Linked DNA regions of Homo sapiens: regions 2, 3 and 4 are each linked to region 1. Evidence: promoter capture Hi-C in 16 types of primary human blood cells and fetal thymus (Javierre and others, 2016). All regions are on one chromosome and are shown on one strand. The core of a region is centred on a gene start or on the middle of the fragment in contact, and the rest is flanking DNA. Distances in the headings are between cores, read along the strand shown.

Region 1 (2,939 bases), core at 214-2,713:
CAGGAGCGGGGTCCTGTCAGTTTGTTTTCTCTTAGTTCTTTCTGACCCCTGACAGAATGTCCAGGCACATTCCTCAGAAGGTCACGAGGCCATAGGGCTAGAGAACCCTGCAGGCCCCTCAGGAGGTCACCAGAGCATGCCCTCTGCCCAGAGACTGGGGCACTCTCCCCGAACTCCTCAAGGCTACTGCTTTCAAGCAGTTCAAAGAGAAAAAGAAGGAATCATTAAGAGAAATCCAGCCAATCTCATCACTCTGCTTCGGGAAGACCTTGTTCTTGGGCCAAGATTTAGTGGATTCATCTAATCCTTTCATGGAAGGAATTAAAATGGAACACCTGGCTATTTGCTTTATTTTTATCTGAAGCCACTTGCCATCACTTGAGGATAATTATGTTGAATTTTGTTTCATTCTTGATATCCCACACAAAATTTCCTCAACTCCAGAAATCACTTTTCCATAATTAAGAGCATAGATTCTAGAGCCAGATTGCCTGGACCCATATCCTAGTTCAGCTACAAGTTATGAACCTTATTCCTGCCTCAGTTTCCCCAAGTGTAAATGAGGATAATTATTTTTTCTACTCCATTGACGTGTTATGGGGCTTCAGCAAGCTGGTTACATGAGGTATTTAGAACAAGGTGAATAGCGAGTGCTCAGTGAAGACTGGCTGTTATTCACTCCCTTACTGCAGAGCACCTGACCCGGAACTGTTTGAATTACAATATAGAGGAAGTGCCGTCTCACCCAGCAAGGCAGTCAGAACCTACCAATCAACTGAAACATTCACCGAGGGCCAATTGTGTCCCTGTGGGTTCTGTTCTAGCCATTGGAAATACTAAATCCAATACAGAGTGGCCCCCATCCTCAAGAAACCTACAGCCTGGTGAGAAAACTAGACACCATCTCTTCCTTAACATGCACAATGGTGTGGTTTGTACCGTGCTATACTATGAAATGTCCTCACAGCCCCTCAACAGGTACCTGGAACAGGTATCATCCTCCCCACTTCCTGCATGATAATAAAATGCTTATCAGGAAACACCGTTTGCTTATTACGTGTCATTGGCACCTTAGCATAGGAGGTCATCTTTCAATAAGTTAACCTAGAGGGAAGGGGAGATGTTGTCTAAGTAGGCCCTGTTTTCGTCCTGCAGTGATGGGTTGTAACGAACTCAATGTTTGTGTTAGGTTTGGAGGAGACCAGCCTGTCTACATCAACATCATTAGAGACCCCGTCAACCGGTTCTTATCCAACTATTTTTTCCGTCGCTTTGGAGACTGGAGAGGGGAACAAAATCACATGATCCGCACCCCCAGCATGAGGCAGGAGGAGCGCTACCTGGTAAGTCCTGTCGCATGCAAAAGGCGGTCTCCCCACTGCCTGAGGAGTGGGCCCTCCACCAGGGAAGGTTCACTCTTCCCTTCCCAGGCCTTCTCCTTGGCGCCTCCATGGAGCGTGGCGCAGAGAGGGTGCTTCCGCAGGAAGGAGGTCTTGGCGAGAGAAACTGGTTCCGGGTGACCCAGATCCTAATGAACATTTCCTCAAATTATTTTCTGATTTTGCTTTGCTCAGTTGTCTTTAGTGCTAGGTTTTGGGACCCAGAGCGTTAACAGTCTTTCCTAAGGAGTCCTGACTAGCACTGTAGTGCTTAAGAAGAACAAAGGTGTTGGGGGGGTGTCTGTTAGAGGGCGGCAGAGCCCCTTCTCATCCCTCAGCCCATTCAGTTCCCATGACCACTCTGGGAGGGGGAGGTGTTTTCAGATGAGGACCCTGAGATTCTAAAGGTTGTGGGATTTGCCACAGTCACCTCTCAGGTAAGGGCGCAACTGCGACCGACTGTTTCGGGTTTCCTGCCTTCACAGTCTGGGTTCTTTCCACCACAGCGCGATAGAACCCTGTCATTGCACCAGTAATTGTTTGCTTTCTCTGGACTTGTTTTGGGACCCTCAGCTCCATAAGGGATGTTAGTCTCGAGCCCAGTAATTATTTCCGCAGCACAGAGGTTGGTAACAAAAACGGAGGGCGGAGTTGCGCGTCTTTCTTTCAGCACTAGAACGAAAGGTACATTTCCCATCCCTGTGTTGAGAAACATGTACTGAGGAGCTGACAGCCTGGTGCCCAGGAGGCTGAAATCCTGGTCTCTGTGTCTGAGAGAGCCCTTGGGGTTCACCCGGACCCATCCTGGGCTGTTGTCGGGCACAAGCAGGAAAGTAGGAAGTGTTGAGGATCAGTCAGAGGTGTTGTTCCCAAAGCTGGAAGATCGCCCAGAGCTGAGGCCACTGCTGATGTGCCGTCAGCAGCAGCCTTGCCGCTGGAGAAAAGCACCGAATCTCAGGGCCACGGCCAGGACGGCTGCTTCCTCATCTCATTTTAAAAACATAATGGAAGTGGATGTTCAGAGGCTGGGAGCATTTGGGGATGATGTCCCCTCAGTGTCACGTTCATGTTTTCAAATCCATGATTAGAGTAGAGAAAACTGAGATACAGAGAAGTTAGTGTCTCAGCCAGGGCCAGACGACTACACCAGACCCACGGCTTTCCACTCACCTTCGGTATTTGATCAACTACCTAAGGCTTCAGTGAAATATTTTGATGATTTTATTTTTATTTTTATTTTCTTCCTTTGATGATATATTTTAAAAGTGGCTTTTCCCTTTTTTTTTTTTTTTTTTTTTAGTTTTTATGGCGAAACCCTAATCTATTTCTTTATAGGTTATGAGGCCGGGCGCAGTGGCTCACGCCTGTAATCCCAGCACTTTGGGAGGCCGAGGCAGGTGCATCACTTGAGGCCAGGAGATCGAGACCAGCCTGGCCAACATGGTGAAAACCTGTCTTTATTAAAAATACAAAAATTAGCCGAGCATGGTGGCGCATGCCTGTGATCCCAGCGAATTGGGAGGCTGAGGCAGGAGAATCCTTTGAATCCGGGAGGCAGAG
Region 2 (2,939 bases), core at 224-2,723, 900 kb after region 1:
TTTCTTATTTTCAACGAAAATCAAGTCCCCTCTTTTCACTTTTTATAAAAGGGACCAGAAGTTTTCCTCCCATTTTTGTATGATGAAAGCCACCGCAGGCAAAGTCAGGAGAGCCACGTCAAGAAAAAGGAGTGGGTGTTACGAGAAGCCCGGCATCTAATTAGATTTTGCTCTTGCAATTACTTAACACAAACCATGCCTTATACAACCCATGAGACTAAAACAAACTTTTTTCTCTCAGCATTTCTCCCCTTTTAAGTCATATTTCCACGAATCCTCTCAGATCAGCCTTTCTCTTCAAGCCTAGAAAAATTCCAGTAGCACGTCACCGCGCCCGCCCGCCCGCTTCTGCCAAACTACTGGGCTTCCTCTTCCCTAAGACAGAGAAACCCATGCCAGAAACTCTTCTGGGTGCCCGCGGCTAAAATAACTTGGCACGAGTGTGTTTCGCTTCCAACTTGGCGAGGGCGCTGCGGGTCTCGAGCGCTCTGGCCAAGGCCGGCCCCTCAGTCGCGCGCTTACCCTGCCGGGGCGAGGCGCGCGCGGTGGCCAGGGCGGCGCCGTCCGGCGCGCGGCTGAGGCTGTAGCTGCTGTAGCCGCTGTGCAGCGCGAACTTGCAGACGTTGCGGCCGCGCGCCGTGCAGTTGAAGAGGTAGCAGCCGAGCACGGCTGCCGGGGGCGCGGGGCGCCGGGGCAGCTCCACCACGGCCACGGAGCAGCGCGGCTCGGAGCAGCAGGCCGCCACGCATTGCCGCCAGCCCCGCACGGCCGCCGGCGCCCGCAGGAAGCTGGCACCCGCCGCCAGGGAGTCCTTGGTGCGGATGATGGCGTCAGGCATTGCGCTGTAGCCGCCGCTGCCCGGGCCCGGGCAGTCCTCCTGGGGGCCGCCGCCCGCGCGCAGCTCCAGCTCCAGCTCCTCCTGAGGCCGCTCCTGCTGCAGTTGCCGGCGGAACTCCTCCAGCAGCTGCTCCACGCCCGACAGCTGCGCGTGCAGTTCGGACAGCGGCGCCGCGGGCGGCAAGGCCGCACGGCCGCTTGGCAGCCACAGGCAGAGCAGTAGCAGCCCGCGCAGCGCCCCGTGACGCGGCGGTAGCCGGCGCTGCGAGCCCGCGCTCTCCTGGGCGACGGAGGCCATGGCGACGAGAGCCAAGGGCAGCGAGCCGAGGCGGGGCTGAGCGCGGGAGGAAGGCGGGGACGCGGGCGAGCGCGGGCCCTGGGCCCCTCCTGCGCGGCCGCGGCTGGCTCTAGGCCCCGGCCTCACAGCGCGGCGCCCCCGAACCCGGCTGCTCCCCCGAGGTCGCGGGCGCCGGCGGGAACCGCAGTAGCGGGAGACATAGCCGGCCCAGCCGGGCACCGCTCCTTGCCCTCGCCGGAGACTGCCCAGCGCCCTGCGCCTCTCCGCCCCGGCCTGCGGCGCGCTGGGTGGCGACGAGTCGGCCTCGGCGTTGATCAGCACCAGGTGTGTGCGAACAGTGGCCGCGGCGGGGTGGAGCCTTGGTGAGCCCCGCCCCCCCGCGCGGCCCCGCCCCCGCGCGTCTCGCGCCGGCTCCTCCAGGGCTGGGAGAGCAGGCCCCGGGGAGGGCAGCCTCAGAACAACTTTGCTCCCGCGCCGCTGCCCAGCTAGGGCAGGGTTCATGTCTGGGCCCAGCAGGCTTTAGCAACCAACCACACCTGCCCAGGGCGCCTGCCCACAGGGGCTTGGCATTCGGGGGAATGGGGGCAGTGGGAAGGGAGGGCCTGTCTTCAAATCCTCGTGACCCCCGGGACTACTCCAGAGAGGGGGCACGCGCACCTAGGACCACCGTAGCGCGTCATCAGTCCTTCACCTCCAGCGTCCCTGACTTTCCGCATCATGTTCCCAAGATGTGCTTGGGTAGTACAAAGTGGGGCGGGGTTGGGGTGGCGGAGTCAGGGCCGGGAGGGGTGGGGATGGGAAGTACTGAAAGATGTTCAGTCTGTTTAAAAACACAAAAATCAAGCCTGGTGAGGTGGTACTCGCCTGTAAGTCCTGAGGCTGAGTTGGGAGGATGGCTTGGACCCAGGAGTTCGAGACTGCAATGAGCTGTGATCACACCACTGTACTCCAGCCTGGGGGACAGAACAAGACCCTGTCTTTAAAAATAAAAACAAAACCCATAAATAGCAGTCGTCACATGCACTCAGATTTCCACAAATATAACAAAAAATCTGAACACAGCCAACATGGGGACCTGGGAGTAATACAGCCTGTGACAGAGAGGCCTCTAGCGGTTATATCACGTAAAATCTCGGGAGTTGTGCTTTAAATGACATAAGGAATAAGAAAATGTCCAACCCAGTGGGGGCTTCACCTTGGCGTTCTAGACTTCTGTGAGCAGCATCTGCATCTTGTTTGTTTCTGAATCAGTTTCTGTTGATTCATTTTTCTCCTGATTGTGGATCGCATTTTCTTGCTTTTTAGCCTGTCCGGAAATTTTTGCCTGGATGCGCACATTGTAAATAGAACACTGTTAAGTGTCTGTATTTTTTAGGATTGAAAGAATAAATAATTGGTGGGAAAATATCAGTCTCTGCTATGTGTTTATTATCTCCAGAGTTGACATTTAGGAACCCATTGCTTGCAGATCCAGATCAGAGTAGGAGGTAAAATTAAAAGGTAGCAATAGAAAAGAAAGAAAAAAGCTCAATGTTACTTGCCATTCCATCAAAGGGAGAAATTATAAAGTTTTTGCAGGGGTATATTTGAGTGATTTTTGAGGCTAAAAGAAATGGCCTCTTAGCTCTAAAGGCTGTGTCTGGACTGTACCACTTCGGCCTGGAGATTCTTCCTCATATGGCATACTCATCCCACACAACTGCAGTCATTGTAAGATGACCTTGAAGCAACATAATGCTTTTTATTTTTTATTTTTATTTTTTGCCATAGACCTTGGAGAGCTTGAGCAGGATTGTTATGAGGA
Region 3 (2,939 bases), core at 193-2,692, 640 kb after region 1:
AGCCAAGATCATGCTACTGCACTCCAGCCTGGGTGACAGACCGAGACACCAACTCAAAAAAAAAAAAGGCTAATAATAATAATACAATAACAAGGATAGGACCAAAGACTCTAAGTCATCCTTCTACATCAACATTGGTTTGATACATCAAAAGTATCAAAGAAAAATAAAAATGACCATGCAAATGAACTGGCTAGCATAAAAAAATTAATACTGAGATAAATGTGGTCGCAAGTGAATATCAGATATACACAAAATGTATTTCAATCCTTTAGAGGAGATAAGATTAAAGACAGATGGCTTATTTAGCCAAGACTATGGCTCAATCTTTAAACACCTACTTGTCCCTCATCAATGCTCCTAAAAATATCCCTTTTCATTATTCCCACTACCCTCCAAAAGACACATCTCAGTCCTTACATGGGATTCCTCTCATCCTCTGTGATGACAGTCATTAGGGCCACGGTTCCCAAACTATGTACTCAATACCCAGGACACAATGGCAAACTCACGAGGTATTGTGGGATAGTTTAAATTTTTGAAAGAAACACAGCAACATCTGTTGAACACTGTGTGAACTACTAGCTAGAGGTAGTTCACGATTCCTACATAAGACTGCTATACTCCTCTTCAATAATGCTTTATTTATTTATTTATTTATTTATTTTTGAGCTAGAGTCTCACTCTGTCGCCCAGGCTAGAGTGTAGTAGTGTGATCTTGGCTCATTGCAACCTCCACCTCCTGGGTTCAAGCAATTCTCCTGTCTCAGCCTTCTGAGTAGGATGACAGGTGTGCACCACCACGCCCGGCTAATTATTTTTAGTGGAGATGGGGTTTCAGCACGTTGGCCATGCTAGTCTTGAACTGCTGACCTCAAGTGATCCGCCCACCTCGGCCTCCCAAAGTGCTGGGATTACAGGTGTGAGCCACTGTGTCCGGCCTGAATAATACCATATTTTTGTGAAGCTGGGTTTTGGGCAGTTGCTGTGATAAGATGTACAGAGAGAAAATCAATGTGGAAGAGGAATGAGGGTAGAATGTCCGTTCTGACTGCAGGGTTTGAGAAACTGTGTAACAGGGCCCAATAGGTGTTAAACTGCTAGAACATAAACTGTTTGAACCTAACTTCTTCATAAATGGATAGGTATTTTTCATAAGTGGATGGGTATCCTGGCCTAGAGATGCTATATAAAAATTACTAAGATACTTATGAATATTATAGGCCAAGAAAATTTATGAAGCCCTGCATTAGGGTAAATAAACATTTTTTCTGCCGTACTAAGATTGTTACCCAATTCCCATAACATTTTTTTTGCACGTAACATGATGATTCCTTTGCCAACTGGTGCTGTCTAATGCCATTATTAATGTCCAGACTTAACCAATATTTATGATATTCAAAATGTTAACCTAGATGGCCAAATAAGCATCAGTTCCACAATGTGTGTATTGAGCCTCCAATATTAGCATAAAAGATTCAAGGAAGGAACTGTGTAACTTTTTTTTTTTTTTTTTTTGAGATGGAGTTTCATTCTTGTTGCCCAGGCTGGAGTGCAGTGGCACGATCTTGGCTCACTGCAACCTCTGCTTCCCCGGTTCAAGCAATTCTCCTGCCTCAGCCTTCCGAGTAGCTGGGATTACAGACATGTACCACCATGCCTGGCTAACTTTTTATATTTTTAGTAGAGATGGGGTTTCACCATGTCAGCTAGGCTGGTCTTGAACTCCTGACCTCAGGTGATTTGCCCACCTCAGCCTCCCAAAGTGCTGGGATTACAGGGGTGAGCCACCACACCCAGCCAGAACTGTGTAACATTTAAAAGAGAAGAAGATAATCTTTTCTTCAAAGTATTTATAAAGTTGTTACTCATTTACAGATATTTAACAAGTATCTGTTCTGTGTTAGCAGCTATGGAGAACAGGAAAAGGACACTGTACCTGACTATCAGGAACATATACTGTAAGCCAGGGAAGATACAAATATAAGGCATTTTCTCTTTCTCTTTCTTTTCTCCCATAGAACACAGTACTAAGGGAATGTTCGCAGACAAAGCAAAACAAATTTAAGTAGGCAGAAGAAAGAAACAGTGTTGTAATAGGACAGCCAAAGAAAGCTGTGGAACTTCAAATGCTGACATATTTAATAGGATTTTACTTAATTAGTTGAAGTAGTACAATTTCTTTTAGATATACATCTATCTAATAATTTGCTCCTGGCCAGGTGCAGTGGCTCATGCCTATAATTCTAGCACTTAGGCTGAGGGGGGTGGATCAGTTGAGGCCAGGAGTTCGAGATCAGGCTGGCCAACATGGTGAAACCCCCTCTCTACTAAAAATACAAAAATATTAGCTGGGCATAGTGGTACATGCCTGTAGTCCCAGCTACTCAAGAGGCTGAGAGGAGAATCGCTTGAACCCAGGAGGCGGAGGTTACACTGAGCTGAGATTGCACTACTGCAGTCCAGCCTGGGCAACAGAACAAGACTCCATCTCAAATAAAAACAAACAATAACTTGTTCTAAGTGAAAACAGTAACCAGTAGGAAGTGGAAAAAAACAGTTGAGGGATTCAAAGGGACCTAGACTCCTTTTTTCATGCTCAAAATAAAGTTTCAGATAGACGGATTAATCAGGACATAAGTCCTTGGGTTTAAAACTAGTTCTTTTGCTGGGCTCAGTGGCTCACGCCTGTAATCCCAGCACTTTGGGAGGCAGAGGCAGGCAGATCACCTTAGGTCAGTAGTTCGAGACCAGCCTGGCCAACATGATGAAACCCCGTCTCTACTAACAATACAAAAATTAGCCAGGTGTGATGGTTCACACCTGTAATCCCAGCTGCTCGGGAGGCTGAGGCAGGAGAATCGCTTGAACCTGGGAGGCAGAAGCTGCAGTAAGCCAAGATCAGGCCACTGCACTCCAGCCTGGGCGACAGAGTGAGA
Region 4 (2,939 bases), core at 161-2,660, 560 kb after region 1:
TAAATAAATGGTGCTGTCACGTGGCAATCCAATGTATGAAAAACGAAACAATGTAATACAATACACCAAAAGCAAATTACAGAATTGAATGGGAAACAATTTCACAACAAAGCTTCTAAAAATAATACAGGAGAATATCCTCATGTCTTTGAAGTAGGAAAATATTTTTTAAATAGGCCACTAAAAAGGAAGAAAAATACTGACAACCTGAACCATTAAAATTAGAAATTTGTTTATAAAAAGACACCATTAAGAAAGGAAAAAGGCATGCCTGTGGTCCCAGTTATGCAGGAGCTAAAATTGGAGAATCACTTGAGCCCATGAGCTCAAGTCCAGCCTGGGCAACACAGAGTGATCCTGTCCCTTAAAAAACAAAAAAAAAGTAAAAGGAAATCCACAGAGAAGATATCTGTATCACACATAATCAAAAAAGAGCTTGCATCCAGAAAATATAAAGAATCCTTAGAGATCAATAAAAAAGTAAAACAGCAGGTGCAGTGGCTCAAGCCTATAATTCCAGCACTTTGGGAGGCCAAGGCAGGTGGATCACTTAAGGTCAAGAGTTCAAGACCAGCCTGGCCAACATCATAAAACCCTGTATCTACTAAAAATTCAAAAATGAGCCAGGTGTGGTGGCAAGCACCTGTAATCCCAGCTACTTGGGATGCTGAGGCATGAGAATCGCTTGAAACTGGGAGGCGGAGGTTGCAGTGAGCTGAGATCATGCGACTACACTCCAGCCTGGGTGACAAAGCAAAACTCTGTTTCAAAAAAATAAAAAGAAAAAAAAAAAAGAAGAAAATGGCATAGCTGCAAAAAACTCAAAACATGGGCAGTCATTAGTCTATGTGCTACAAATGAAATTTTATTTGTGAGAAAATAAATAATAGATTCTATAGTGTCAATGATAGAATGCTAGTGCAGGTCTACAAGTTTTCACAGCAAACCAAAGGTAAAGGTCTTTCTGCTGGCACCAATGTACCTTGTAAGTATCATTTCTGGTACATCTGACACAGTGCCTACATATAACTTTATGGTCTATCTTCCCCAACCCTCCATGATTCATCTTGTATCCCTAGGCCTTATTGCTGTGTCTGAAAACATAAAAGGTATTCCATAAATGCTTTGTAATAATTAGAACTTAGAATGAGCTACTACTGGATACATATGAGTCCAAAGTTGCATTAAAAAAGAGCATACCATAGCACAGTGTAAACTCAATGGGAACAGAATCAGACATATCTGAGTTCAAATCCCAGCTATGACATTCATTCACTAGGTGTGTGATTTTGAACAAGTCACATTAGCATTATGTGTCTCAGTTAACTTATTTGGAAAAGGGGATGGTCCCTATCTTACAGAACTGTGAGGATTAAATGCAGCAAAAGTAACATAATGCCTAGCTTAAAGTAAATATTTAAGCAACATAAGCTATCATTATTACAGCTCTAGAAGGGGCCATCTATTCTAATACCCAAGTTTTATTTATAAGAAGGTAAGACCTAGAAAGAACGGTTAACTAAACTGCCAAGTATCATACAATAGCTGGCTAATAACAAAAGATGTATTAATATCTAAATCTTAACACCCAGTTCAGTTCTCTTTCTATTACTCAACTTTATCTCCACTTAAGTAACAGGGAAAAATTAAGAGTCTCTGAAGGGCTTTACTTAGAACTTAAAAAGTTCTAAGATTGGCTGAGTGTTGTGGCTTATGCCTATAATCCCAGCACTTTGGGAGGCCGAGGCAGGTGGATTGCTTGAGGTCAGGAGTTCAAGACCAGCCTGGCCAATATGGTGAAACCCTGTCTCTACTAAAAATACAAAAAAATTAGCAGGGCATGGTGGTGGGCACCTGTAATCCCAGCTACTGGGGAGGCTGAGGCAAGAGAATCGCTTGAACCAGGAGGCGGAGGCTGCAGTGAGTCGAGACTGCGCCACTGCACTCCAGCCTGGGCAACAGAGTGAGACCCTGTCTCAAAAAAAAAAAAAGTTCTAAAGATACTTTCATGCAGATTGCACCTGAACCTAAAGTAAAAGTACGTATGTTAACATCAACAGATGTTGAACTTATCCCCTATATAGATACAATAAACTTAATTTTGGGGAGTGCCAAAAGAAAGGGCAACTCTAGAAACTAGAAAAAGTTCTATAATTTTTCACATTTTAATACCATATAAAAGCAAATAAATACCAAACTTATGTCTGTATTATGACATACCTTTTCAAATTCAATAAAAGCGTAACAGAGGGACTCTCCTGTCTTCCAGTCTCGGATAACTTCACAACTGAAAGAAAGTATTTAAAAGTGACTTAAAAAAAAAAAAAAGGAAGAAAGCATTCACTCTCACTCTTCAAAACTGAAGAAGAAATAAGTCAGTTACTACAAGGCAAAGTTAAATTCATAGATTATTTTTCCAAATTCATTTAATAACAATTCTTTTTTAAAAGTAGTTCACCAGAGCAGTAACTAAATTATCTAAATTCTACTCTAAGTGCCTTATATAGGCCTACAGTCCTAAATTCCCTTAAGCACTGAAGTAAGAATAAAAATATTTAATTTTCCTTTGGCAAAAGTAAACTACTGCTAAAGACTTTTAAAATCACAACACTTTTCTAGTCCAAATATAGTCGAATTATAGAATATCTAACATCTAACATTACTGTAGAATAATGTATGCATACTCATACATATATAAATGTTTAAGTTCAAGCTTTGAAATTTTTGAATTTTAATATAAATCAAGCTCAAATTTAACACTGTAAGCACAATGTTAATTACAGAACTAATATACCATAATAACCAAGTGAAAAGGCCAATAAGCTGAAGTTGAAAGCACCTGGCTTGTCCCTTGCCCCAAGTGTCATAAGTCTCATTTTAAAAACCTCATTTTAAAAGCCGGGCGCAGTGGCTCATACCTATAACCCCAGCCCTTTGGG

The links. The method cuts DNA at HindIII sites, captures the fragments that hold promoters and counts their contacts. A CHiCAGO score of 5 or more calls a contact.
Region 2: the fragment with the promoter of LRP11 here is called in contact with the fragment with the promoter of UST-AS1 in region 1 in 4 of 17 cell types (naive CD4 T cells, activated CD4 T cells, naive CD8 T cells and 1 more); the score reaches 7.0 in naive CD4 T cells.
Region 3: a contact is called between a fragment that was not itself captured here and the fragment with the promoter of UST-AS1 in region 1, in 1 of 17 cell types (activated CD4 T cells). The highest score is 5.4, in activated CD4 T cells.
Region 4: a fragment that was not itself captured here is called in contact with the fragment with the promoter of UST-AS1 in region 1 in 1 of 17 cell types (total B cells); the score reaches 5.5 in total B cells.

The regions. Positions count from the first base shown.
Region 1 is chr6:148,963,221-148,966,159 of GRCh38, forward strand. It overlaps UST-AS1 (UST antisense RNA 1), which reads right to left and starts at 1,464. Exons shown (of 3, transcript NR_038408.1): 1 at 1,341-1,464. It overlaps UST (uronyl 2-sulfotransferase), which reads left to right. Exons shown (of 8, transcript NM_005715.3): 5 at 1,190-1,343. RefSeq lists enhancers at 352-928, 929-1,505. The HindIII fragment of the contact is 7,762 bases long and covers 1-2,939 here.
Region 2 is chr6:149,862,886-149,865,824 of GRCh38, forward strand. It overlaps LRP11 (LDL receptor related protein 11), which reads right to left and starts at 1,474. Exons shown (of 7, transcript NM_032832.6): 1 at 523-1,474. The coding sequence starts at 1,135. RAET1E-LRP11 (RAET1E-LRP11 readthrough) reads right to left here. Exons shown (of 15, transcript NR_182438.1): 8 at 2,331-2,459; 9 at 2,000-2,112. It overlaps RAET1E-AS1 (RAET1E antisense RNA 1), which reads left to right and starts at 613. Exons shown (of 2, transcript NR_045126.1): 1 at 613-1,497. RefSeq lists silencers at 479-628, 799-908, 1,049-1,108, 1,179-1,628 and an enhancer at 1,285-1,785. The HindIII fragment of the contact is 13,305 bases long and covers 1-2,939 here.
Region 3 is chr6:149,605,118-149,608,056 of GRCh38, forward strand. All of the region lies in intron 4 of KATNA1 (katanin catalytic subunit A1), which reads right to left. Among named protein-coding and RNA genes, the nearest start is that of GINM1, 40 kb to the left of the region's middle. The HindIII fragment of the contact is 3,717 bases long and covers 1-2,939 here.
Region 4 is chr6:149,522,923-149,525,861 of GRCh38, forward strand. PPIL4 (peptidylprolyl isomerase like 4) reads right to left here. Exons shown (of 13, transcript NM_139126.4): 9 at 2,221-2,287. Among named protein-coding and RNA genes, the nearest start is that of PPIL4, 22 kb to the right of the region's middle. The HindIII fragment of the contact is 2,601 bases long and covers 111-2,711 here.